2 separate regions of the Homo sapiens genome follow, and region 2 is linked to region 1. The links are contacts of gene promoters, found by promoter capture Hi-C in human tissues and cell types (Jung and others, 2019). All regions are on one chromosome and are shown on one strand. The core of a region is centred on a gene start or on the middle of the fragment in contact, and the rest is flanking DNA. Distances in the headings are between cores, read along the strand shown. Region 1 holds the start of FAM200A (family with sequence similarity 200 member A). Region 2 holds the start of CYP3A43 (cytochrome P450 family 3 subfamily A member 43).

Evidence for each region. The method cuts DNA at HindIII sites, captures the fragments that hold promoters and counts their contacts. A contact is called where the count stands out against the background at its distance.
Region 2: a contact is called between the fragment with the promoter of CYP3A43 here and a fragment that was not itself captured in region 1, in 1 of the 25 tissues and cell types used here (small bowel).

What each region holds. Positions count from the first base shown.
Region 1 is chr7:99,549,588-99,554,368 of GRCh38, reverse strand. FAM200A (family with sequence similarity 200 member A) reads left to right here and starts at 2,255. Exons shown (of 2, transcript NM_145111.4): 1 at 2,255-2,515. It overlaps LOC105375422 (a long non-coding RNA gene), which reads right to left and starts at 2,204. Exons shown (of 3, transcript XR_927801.4): 1 at 1,885-2,204; 2 at 738-844. RefSeq lists an enhancer at 2,509-2,698. The HindIII fragment of the contact is 6,423 bases long and covers 1-4,781 here.
Region 2 is chr7:99,825,420-99,830,200 of GRCh38, reverse strand. CYP3A43 (cytochrome P450 family 3 subfamily A member 43) reads right to left here and starts at 2,188. Exons shown (of 13, transcript NM_057095.3): 1 at 2,015-2,188. The coding sequence starts at 2,085. The HindIII fragment of the contact is 7,263 bases long and covers 296-4,781 here.

The DNA.
Region 1 (4,781 bases), core at 579-3,078:
TAGCTGGGACTACAGGCACACACCACCGTACCCAGGTAATTTCTGTATTTTTAGTTGAGACGGTGTTTCACCATGTTGCTCAGGCTGGTCTCGAACTCCTGAACTTGTGATCCACCCACCTCAGCCTCCCAAAGTGCTGACATTACAGGTGTGAGCCACCGTGCCCGGCCAATATGGTCTACCTCTTACCAAGGCTGATGTAACTCTCACCATGGTGGAGTGTCCAGCCTGCCAGCATTAGAGACCAACACTGAGTCTTAGAGATACCAGCTACCACCAGGTTGAGTGCATCAGATCCCTTTTACCTTGGAATGGGCATCAATTTGTTCTTACCAGAATTGATATATGCTCTAAATGAGCTTGTCTTCCCCAACTACTTTGCCTCCAGCAGCACCACCATCTGAGAGCTTACAGGGTGCCTTATCCATTGACATACCTGAAACTAAGGAACCCACCGATAGCCAAGGAGGTGTGACAGTGAACTCGAAGCTACAAAATTCATGGTGCATACTCATCATCCAGAAGCAGCTAGCCAGATAGGGTTTTGGAATGGCCTGTTGAAGACTGGGCTAAATTGCGATTAAGATGTAATGCCTTGCAAAGTTGGGAGCAGTTCTTCAGAATATGGTATATGCGCTGAAATGCATTGGGCCAAAATGGATATATAGTATTGTGTCTCCAGTAGGACTATGTGCATACAGGAGTAGCCTCTATTACTATCACACCCAGCCACTCACCTGTAGAATTTGTGCCTCCTCGCTCCGAAATCTGGAGCCAGCTGGGTTATGATCCTCATTTCCAGGAAGAACATTTCCTCTAGGAAACATTAAATCGTGCCACTGAACTGAAAACAGAATACCACCAGGCCACTTTGAGTTTCTTGTGCCAGTAGGTCCGTAGGCAAAGAAAGGAGTCGTTATAGAGATGCCTACAATTCCTGCCACACACACAACATAAATACAAAATCATATACCCAGTCAACTGCATTCAGTAATCTGCCTTCCTGGACCCTTTAGGCACTTCAGTGTAGGAATGGGGACGGGTGGGGAGGAGAGACTTTAGACAAAGAAGAAAAATACAGTGTGTAGCAATGTAATGACTCTTAGCGATGACTTGGAACCCTGGAAGGAAATATGAGGATGTATCTGGAGGAATAAGTTGAGACTATGATGTCATCACGGAGGACTGTAGGTTAGAAAGCCAGCCAGTGATAAAGGAGCAAAGATTGGATTTGACGGTGCCCTAGGAGGAAAAAAAAAAAAAAAAAAATATATATATATATATATATATATATATATGTGTGTGTATATATATATATGTGTGTGTATATATATATACATGTATATATATGTGTATATATATGTGTGTGTATATATATGTGTGTATATATATATATGGAGCAAAGATGCACTTAAGTGGATTATTGAGAAGACTCGTGGGTAGGTAGAAAATGGCAACCATAGCAAGATCAAACCCCCTAAGGAATGGAGCATTAGTGAGGGTCTAGAAGGTAATTCGGGATACCACGTAATCATAGGCTCTGTATCAGGTAGCCGTTCCTTTTGTAGGCTTTTATCTTATTGGGCTGTACCACAGACTTGCCCAGAACTTTTAGAGTCATGCCCCAGCCATTCAAGGTCTCAGTTACTGTTTTATAAAAGGTGAAGTTATTCTTGATCTAATCATAGAAGCCCTAATTATTACAATAACACTTGGACAGCAAAAACGCCTCAAATTCAACTTATTTCACCGTTGCTAATCTGAAAACTCCCTGGAAACATAAGGCAAACTCAGAATTTTATAACTATCTAGTGTTGGAAAGAACGTCTGTTGCCTATAGATCAAGTATTTGAAAATACTGCCCATTCAACTGGCAATACGTACATAATCAGCGTCTCAAGAGACAATCCCTTCGATTTGTGAAACCATTTATTCTTGATCTTCCTGTCTCCACCCTCGTTTCATTCAGCTCCTCTGCCACAGACAATCACTATTTTTATTGTAACTATTACAATTATTGTCATCAAGAAAAATAGAAGGAACATATAAATATCTGAGCAGGGCGGTATAAAGGGAAATTCATCCCTTTTTCCCCGCCCTGTGCACCTCCTCGGAGCGGACAAGCTGAGGAGCAAGATCCCCAAACCCGAGATTAGAGCCCTACACAGGGATGCAAAGTCCTCCCGCGATCCTAGAGAGGACCCCGAAGCGGAGCGCAGCTCCGGAAGGCGGGTGTGACGCACTTCCGGCTTTTGTGACGCTTTCCCTGGGCTCTGAAGGCCAGGGGGCTTGGATGTGAGTCTAGTGCTCCTGGTCCCCAAAGTCACAACCCCTTCTATCCCAGCATCCCAGACTTCTCCGGGCGGGGACAGAGTTGGACGTGCATGGCTGTGTCCTGCAATCCCCTCGCCACGACCGCCCGGGACGGAGTGGAAGCGGGTCCGTGCCCCCGTTCCTCGCGCCAGCCTCGGCGGTGGCAAGCGCTGTCCCCCAGCAGAGGTGTCCCTGGATACAGGTGGGAAGGGAACGAAGTTTTGGTTTCCGGATTGGAGACACCCCTGGGACTGGAGAGAGGCGGTCTGCGTGTCCCTTCTGGACCCCCAGTCCTGGTGTTTTACCCCAAAGACGCGCGGACAAAATGACCCCAGTCAGATATCTGTGCTCCCCAGTTGTGCCCACTGGTTTTTCTTGTGGTGGGGGCTTTTCTGGTTTCCTGGGTACCCCGAGTTGTAAAATTCTGGCGATCTTACACGATACCAAGTGCCATTGGCCTTATAATTTGTTTTATTCGGATGGGCTCGTTAAGCCAGTGTCCGCGGATGATATGTTCACCCTCAAACCCAGTACCATTATGGTGGTGATTAGAGTGAAGGCCGGGCGCAGTGGCTCACGCCCATAATCCCAGCACTTTGGGAAGCCTAGGCAGGCGAATCGTTTGAGGCCAGGAGTTCTGAGATCAGCCTTGCCAACCTAGAGAAACCCTGTCTCTACTAGAAATACAGAAAATTAGACGTGGCGGCACACGCCTGTAATCCCAGCTGCTTGGGAGGCTGAGGCAGGGGAATCGCTTGAACCCGGGAGGCGGAGGTTGCAGTGAGCCAGGATCGCGTCACTGCACTCCAGCCTGGGAGACAGAGAGAGAGAGTGAGACTCTGTCTCAAAAACAAAAAAAGAGAATGTTTGAAGCCTACTGAATAAAGAAGTGATTTGGATATAATAGGAAAAGCTCATTTACACTTCACCCTTTCCTTTCAAGACTTTAGGAAGGGGTCTTTTTGTTTCTTTGGTTGGTTTTTTTGTTTTTGAGACAGAGTCGCCCAGGCTGGAGTGCAGTGGTGCGATCTCGGCTCACTGCAACCTCCAGCGCCCGAGTTCAAGCTTCTCCTGCCTCAGCTTCCTGAGTAGCTGGAATTACAGGCGCCTGCCACCATGCCCGGCTAATTTTTGTACTTTTAGTAGAGACGGGGTTTCGCCATGTTGGCCAGGCTGGGAAAATGAACTCCTGACCTCAGGTGATCCGCCCGCCTCGGCCTCCCAAAGTGCTGCAATTACAGGGGTCAGCCACCACGCCCTGCCAGGAAGGGTTTTAAATGAGCAATTTCGGACATGGGGGGTTTTCAGTTGTGGGAGGTATCTATGCTTGACATCGAGGGATAAAGGAGAGAAGGGAATTTGTGGACGGTGCAGCGGACCATTGGGGACTGGTACCAGTTCTGCCATTGATGTTCTTGGATGAAACACATAGACCCACCAAGTCTCAAATGTGTCCTAAGTAAAGTAAAATAGATTATCTCAAGGTCTCTTCCAATTTTGGAATCTGCCGATAGACTGAATTTAACATTCAGCTAAGCAAAACCTATGGCCCCACATTCATTTCCATTTGTGCCACCAACATACAGAAAGTTACTTGCATTATTGAGAGAGGCTAAGTGACACAGTACCAAAGAAAAGGGGTTCGTTGGCCAGGTGCTGTGGCTCAGGCTTGTAATCCCAGCACTTTGGGAGGCCGAGGTGGGTGGATCACGAGGTCAGGAGTTTGAGACTAGCCTGGCCAACACAGTGAAACCCCGTATCTACTAAAAAGACAAAAATTAGCTGGGCCTGGTGTTGGGCGCCTATAATCCCAGCTACTCGGGAGGCTGAGGCGGAAGAATCACTTGAACCCTGGAGGCGGAGGTTGCAGTGAGCTGAGATCGTGCCACTGCAGTCCAGCCTCAGCAACAGAGCTAGACTCCGTCTCAAAAAAAAAAGGGGGGGGTTCATTTAGTAAAGTCAGGTAATAACTTTTTTTAAGTTTTTTTTTATTATTTACTTTTTTTTATTATACTTTAAGTTCTAGGGTACATGTGCACAATGTGCAGGTTAGTTACATATGTATACATGTGCCATGTTGGTGTGCTGCACCCGTTAACTCATCATTTACATTAGGTATATCTCCTAATGCTATCCCTCCCCACTTCCCCCACCCCATGACAGGCCCCACTGTGTGATGTTCCCCACCCTGTGTCCAAGTGTTCTCATTGTTCAGTTCCCACCTGTGAATGAGAACATGCAGTGTTTGGTTTTCTGTCCTTGCGATAGTTTGCTCAGAATGATGGTTTCCAACTTCATCCATGTCCCTACAAAGGACATAAACTCATCCTTTTTTATGGCTGCATAGTATTCCATGGTGTATATGTGCCACATTTTCTTAATCCAGTCTATCATTGATGGATGTTTGGGTTGGTTCCAAGTCTTTGCTATTGTGAATAGTGCCGCAATAAACATACATGTGCATGTGT
Region 2 (4,781 bases), core at 939-3,438, 280 kb before region 1:
GGGCTCAAGACCATTGCTTTTTTTTAGGAGGATCTTCCTTTAGGTATGAGAACTTCAGAGAAAGCCCCTTCCTATATTTTGGGAGAAATAGCAGGGTTGGGAGACAGGAGAACATAAGAGTTAGCTTGGTTCTGAAGACTTTCTGAGACCTTTCAATTTCCTTTGGTTCAAAGTCCTCAACATGCTTAAGTGCCATATTTTGGGGTTTCATTTTTGGAGCCCCAACTTTCCCCTGTCATAAACTTCCCTAGAAAATGTACATACTAAAGCTGAGTTGATGCTTGTGGAGAGGACAATTGAATTGGTAGCTGAGTCGCAAGGAATCACATTAAACCAGTATAAACCAGTCTCACATTCCTAGCAATGTCAATCCAGTTAAACAGCTGTGCCTCATTTCAGGAGGTGATGTTGCAGGTCTGCTGTCATGAAAGATAGGTCTGTATATGGTGCAGTTAAACAGGTACTTAATAAGAGGTCATTCTACCAAAGCAAAAGGAGACCAAAAGTTAATCATTTAGCAGACTAGTTTCTGAGTTCACAGGGCAGCCAGACAAAAAGATTTCTACATGTTGGTTTTGAAACAGCTCCAGTTGGAGTAGAGGTAGGCAATGGTGATCTGACAGATTTTTTTTCTCTCCTATAGCTCCTTAGGGCCAGATCTGAAAGACTTTAAGTTGTTGCAATTTCTCTGGAGTCTGCTCTATCACAAAGAATTCTGCAAAAATCACATTTCCTGCCTTTGTGGACCAAACCAATGTATTTCTTAAATGTATTTGATATCTCATGCCTCCCTAAAAGAATAAAACCAAGCTGCACCCTGACCACCTTGGGTACATGTTCTTAAGACCTCCTGAAGGCTGTGTCATGGGCCATGGTCACTCATATTTGGCCCAGAATAAATCTCTTCAAGTATTGTACAGAGTTTGGCTCTTTTTGTTGGCAGCATGTATTAACTCATTCTCTATTACAATTCCCCTGTCTTGATGAATGGGCTCTGTTGAGGCAGGGGGCAAGGTGAATCTCTTGGGTGGTTACAGTGAAAATCCATACAAAATTTTACATGCATATGTGCTGGAGGCCCACAATATATGAGACTAAAATAAGGACTGAATGAGTAAAGCTTAAATAGCATTGTAAGCTAAAAAGTAGGGAGTGGCTTCTGATAGGGAGTTTCTGACACAAGTTATGGGAAGGTGAAGGGAGAAAACACATGATGAACAAAGGTTATTTTATTGTGGAGATAAAGTCTCTCAGGTAGCAGTGCTCCAAAGAATAAGTATTATCAAACTTTTTCTCTTTTCCTGTGAATTAGTTTTCTGATTGATGAGATTATTTGGAGAGGCTCAAGACAATTGCATTCTTTTTGGAAGATCTTCCCTTAGTCAGATAAGAGAACTTCAGAGCAACCCTGCACTTCAGGAGGGAAAGAATGGGGGATGGGTAGACAGAAGAGGGTCAGAGATTCTGAAGACATTTGTGAAGTCTTTCAGTCTTCTTTAGTTCAAACTACTCAGTATGACAAAGTTTTATTTTTTTTTTTGAGACGGAGTCTTGCTCTGTCACCCAGGCTGGAATGCAGTGGTGCAATCTCCGCTCACTGAAACCTCTGCCTCCTGGGTTCAAGCGATTCTCCTGCCTCAGCCTCCCAAGTAGCTGGGATTACAGGTGTGTGCCACCATGCCTGACTAATTTTTGTATTTTTAGTAGAGAAGGGGTTTCACCATGTTGGTCTGGCTGGTCTTGAACTCCTGACCTTGTGATTGGCCTGCCTCCACCTCCCAAGTGCTGAGATTACAGGTGTGAGCCACCGCACCCAGACTAAATTTTACATTTTCAAATGTTGTATTAGGAGTCCTAACATATTAATAATATTTTATGTGTTCACAGTATTTGGCACTTAGGTAACTTCCCCTCCGTTATCTCTTTTATCTTCAAAACAAATAAGAAAAAGATGGGCCCAATTAGCACTTCAGGTCTTAGAGTTAAGAGCAAACATGCCTGCATAGTTACTCACATATAGAGGAGTACCAGGCTGGTAGCCACAAGAACCCATGTTTCCATGGCAAAGTTTGGAATGAGATCCATCACCAGTTTTCTTTTTCAGCTCTGTCTTCTGAGTTTTTCTTTCAGCTGTGTGCTGCTCTTTGCTGGGCTGTGCATATAGAGCTTTGTTTCTCTGCCCAGAGGTGATTTAGTTAATGTTAACAGCGATATTTATGTGCTGGAGAAGGAGGTGGGTCTACAGCGGCAGCCAGTAGAAAAGCCACTTATGCTACTCCTCATATGGAGGGATTTGGGTACCCTTTTCAAATTGACAATTGGCAAATAATTATGGCTGTCCTTATTTTGGCCTCCTTTGATTTCCTATTCTGTGAACAATCAGTAAACAAATCAGTCACTGCTATTGGTAAGCCCAAAGGTTATAGATTCTCAGGAACCTAAAGAAAAATACTTCTGCAAGAACATCTGCCCAGCAACTGCCTGTCCAACCTCAAACTGATGTCAGTCTTGTTATTGATCTTTATAGCCAAGGATAATCATTCCAAAACAAATATGTAATCCTTCTCATTATTTTTTTAAACTTTGTCTTACTTTACCTACCTGAATAAGCACATAGTTTACCTTGGCACGCATATTCCCATTGCAATGCTTTATTCCCAAATAAAAATAATTCTTTTTAGAAAGCCTATCTCTGTTTGTTATCTAGGTTGCCAAATCATGCCTCCAGGTAAACAGACAAGAAGGACTCCCTGTGCCTCAAAAGCAAAAACAAACCCAAGAGGCCATGGCAGGTTTAGGTGATGGTCATGTTCTCTGTGTTCTTAGTAAGTGTTGCAAAACCTATTTTTCTGTAGCCAAGTCAAATAACATTTTCTGAAAAAATCTGTACCTGGGAATTTTCCAACTGCTCACCAACAGATCATGTGGTAAGAACTAACTGACCACCTAGGAACAGCCAATTAAGAGACATGTGACTTGGGGCTTAAAGGCTGTCTAATCAAGACTCTTTTCTTCACTCCTCTGACTCCTCTATCCTGCTCTGTGGTTTTTGACTTTATAGCTCTCCACCTCCGAGGCTGCATCTCCTCAATCTGCAGACTGTGTTTTATAGAAAATGAAGCTCTCCCTCTGTCCTCCACAGATCCCACAATCTTTACTCATATTTCCTGGTGATGAGGAAGGGATCAAAATTGGCTCTCAAGATCCTCTCCCTTGTCATCTGGACTAATCAATGCATTGGCACCAGCAAGAGTCCTCTAAGCTCAGTTATCTTCCTGGCCTGGCTGTTTTGTGGAAAAATCAGTAAATCCTCTTACATCCAAGATCTCACATTTAGGATGAGGTCTTGAGGTCTTTATTTTTTTCAGGGAACCTGCCCTTCTGGCTCTATGGCTACCCACTTGTGGGGTATGCTTGCACTTGGAGGGGCATGCCCATGTTTCTTGGGGTGCATTCATGCTGCATCAAGCAAGTTCATGCCTCACAGGATACTCCATGCTTCAGTGTTGCAAGGACTATCGCATTTTATTTGCCCTTGAAGGGACCCCTTCCTAAGGTGAGGGCTATGCATAACCTAGGTCCTAAGGCCATGGTCTCTAAGGCCTGCCATCGGGTAATTCGGTGGCTCTGTCTCTGATCAATCACTATCAGGTACTCTGGCAGTTTTTCAAGTTTAAAATTTAAAGGTAAAGGCTCGACAGAAATGGATGTGAGAGATACACCTAAATTGAACTCCGAAGCATGCAATGAGGATAAGAGGAGTCTGGACTTCTCAAAGACAGTAAGAGGCTTTCTTTCAATCTGCATTTTTGAAAGTTTCAAACACAATTGGGACTTTGGCTGTGTTTTACTAGGAGACTAACCTGAAGAGTTAACCCATGTCTCAGAAAATCTGAAAAACTTGAAGACCCTAAAATGGAGAGTCCCATATCTTCCTGCTGCTGCACTTGCATTCTACCTCCACTTTTCCCTTTTTACCATCACTGTCTTTGTCTGGAACATTGCAGGGACCTGGCAACTTGGTACCAGCAGGGGCCATTGAGCCCCTGGCTCCTTCATGATGATTGAAAACTGGGTGGGTCTCTCATGAGTTTTGGACTTCCCACTTGATTGACAGCTGTCAGTTTTGTTCAGCTAGTTGTTCTTACCCCTGGATAAAAGGGGGTGAAAGAAAGTCTCTTTCTTTGAGACTTACTGTTTCTCAAGAAGGGGGAATCACTCTGTATTTCTCCTCCATAAACATATGAATGAATATGTATGCTATTTCTCCCATTAATCTCCTTTGTGGGTGATTTTTTTTGTTGTTAACAAACCTTCAGAGGAGAAAGGACAAACATTTTTCTTGGCCTCAGCAGTTCTGTCCCTATGAGCAGGATACCAAAGCCACTCTGTTCTTTCAGAAGCCTCAGTGAAGGGAGCCCAAGCACTTGTAAGTCAGCAGAAAAGTAAGAATTTCTTTTTTTTTCTTTTTCTTTTTTTGACAGAGTCTCATTTTATTACCCAGGCTGGAATGTAGTGGTGTGATCTTGGCTCACTGCAATCTCCGCCTCCTGGGCTCAAGTGATCCTTCTATCTCAGTCTCCCAAGTAGCTGGGACTACAGGCACATGCCTCCATGTCTGGCTGAGAAAAGTAAGAATTTCTTTCCAGACAAGCTCCTGGCCTTTCTTTCTGGGAGATCCACTTGGGCAGATGTTAAGAATTGCTCTTTGTCTCCTCTGCAAAATCTTAATAAATAGGAGAAAAGGATTTGTGTTACTAGTGCTGGGTGCAGCAACTCTA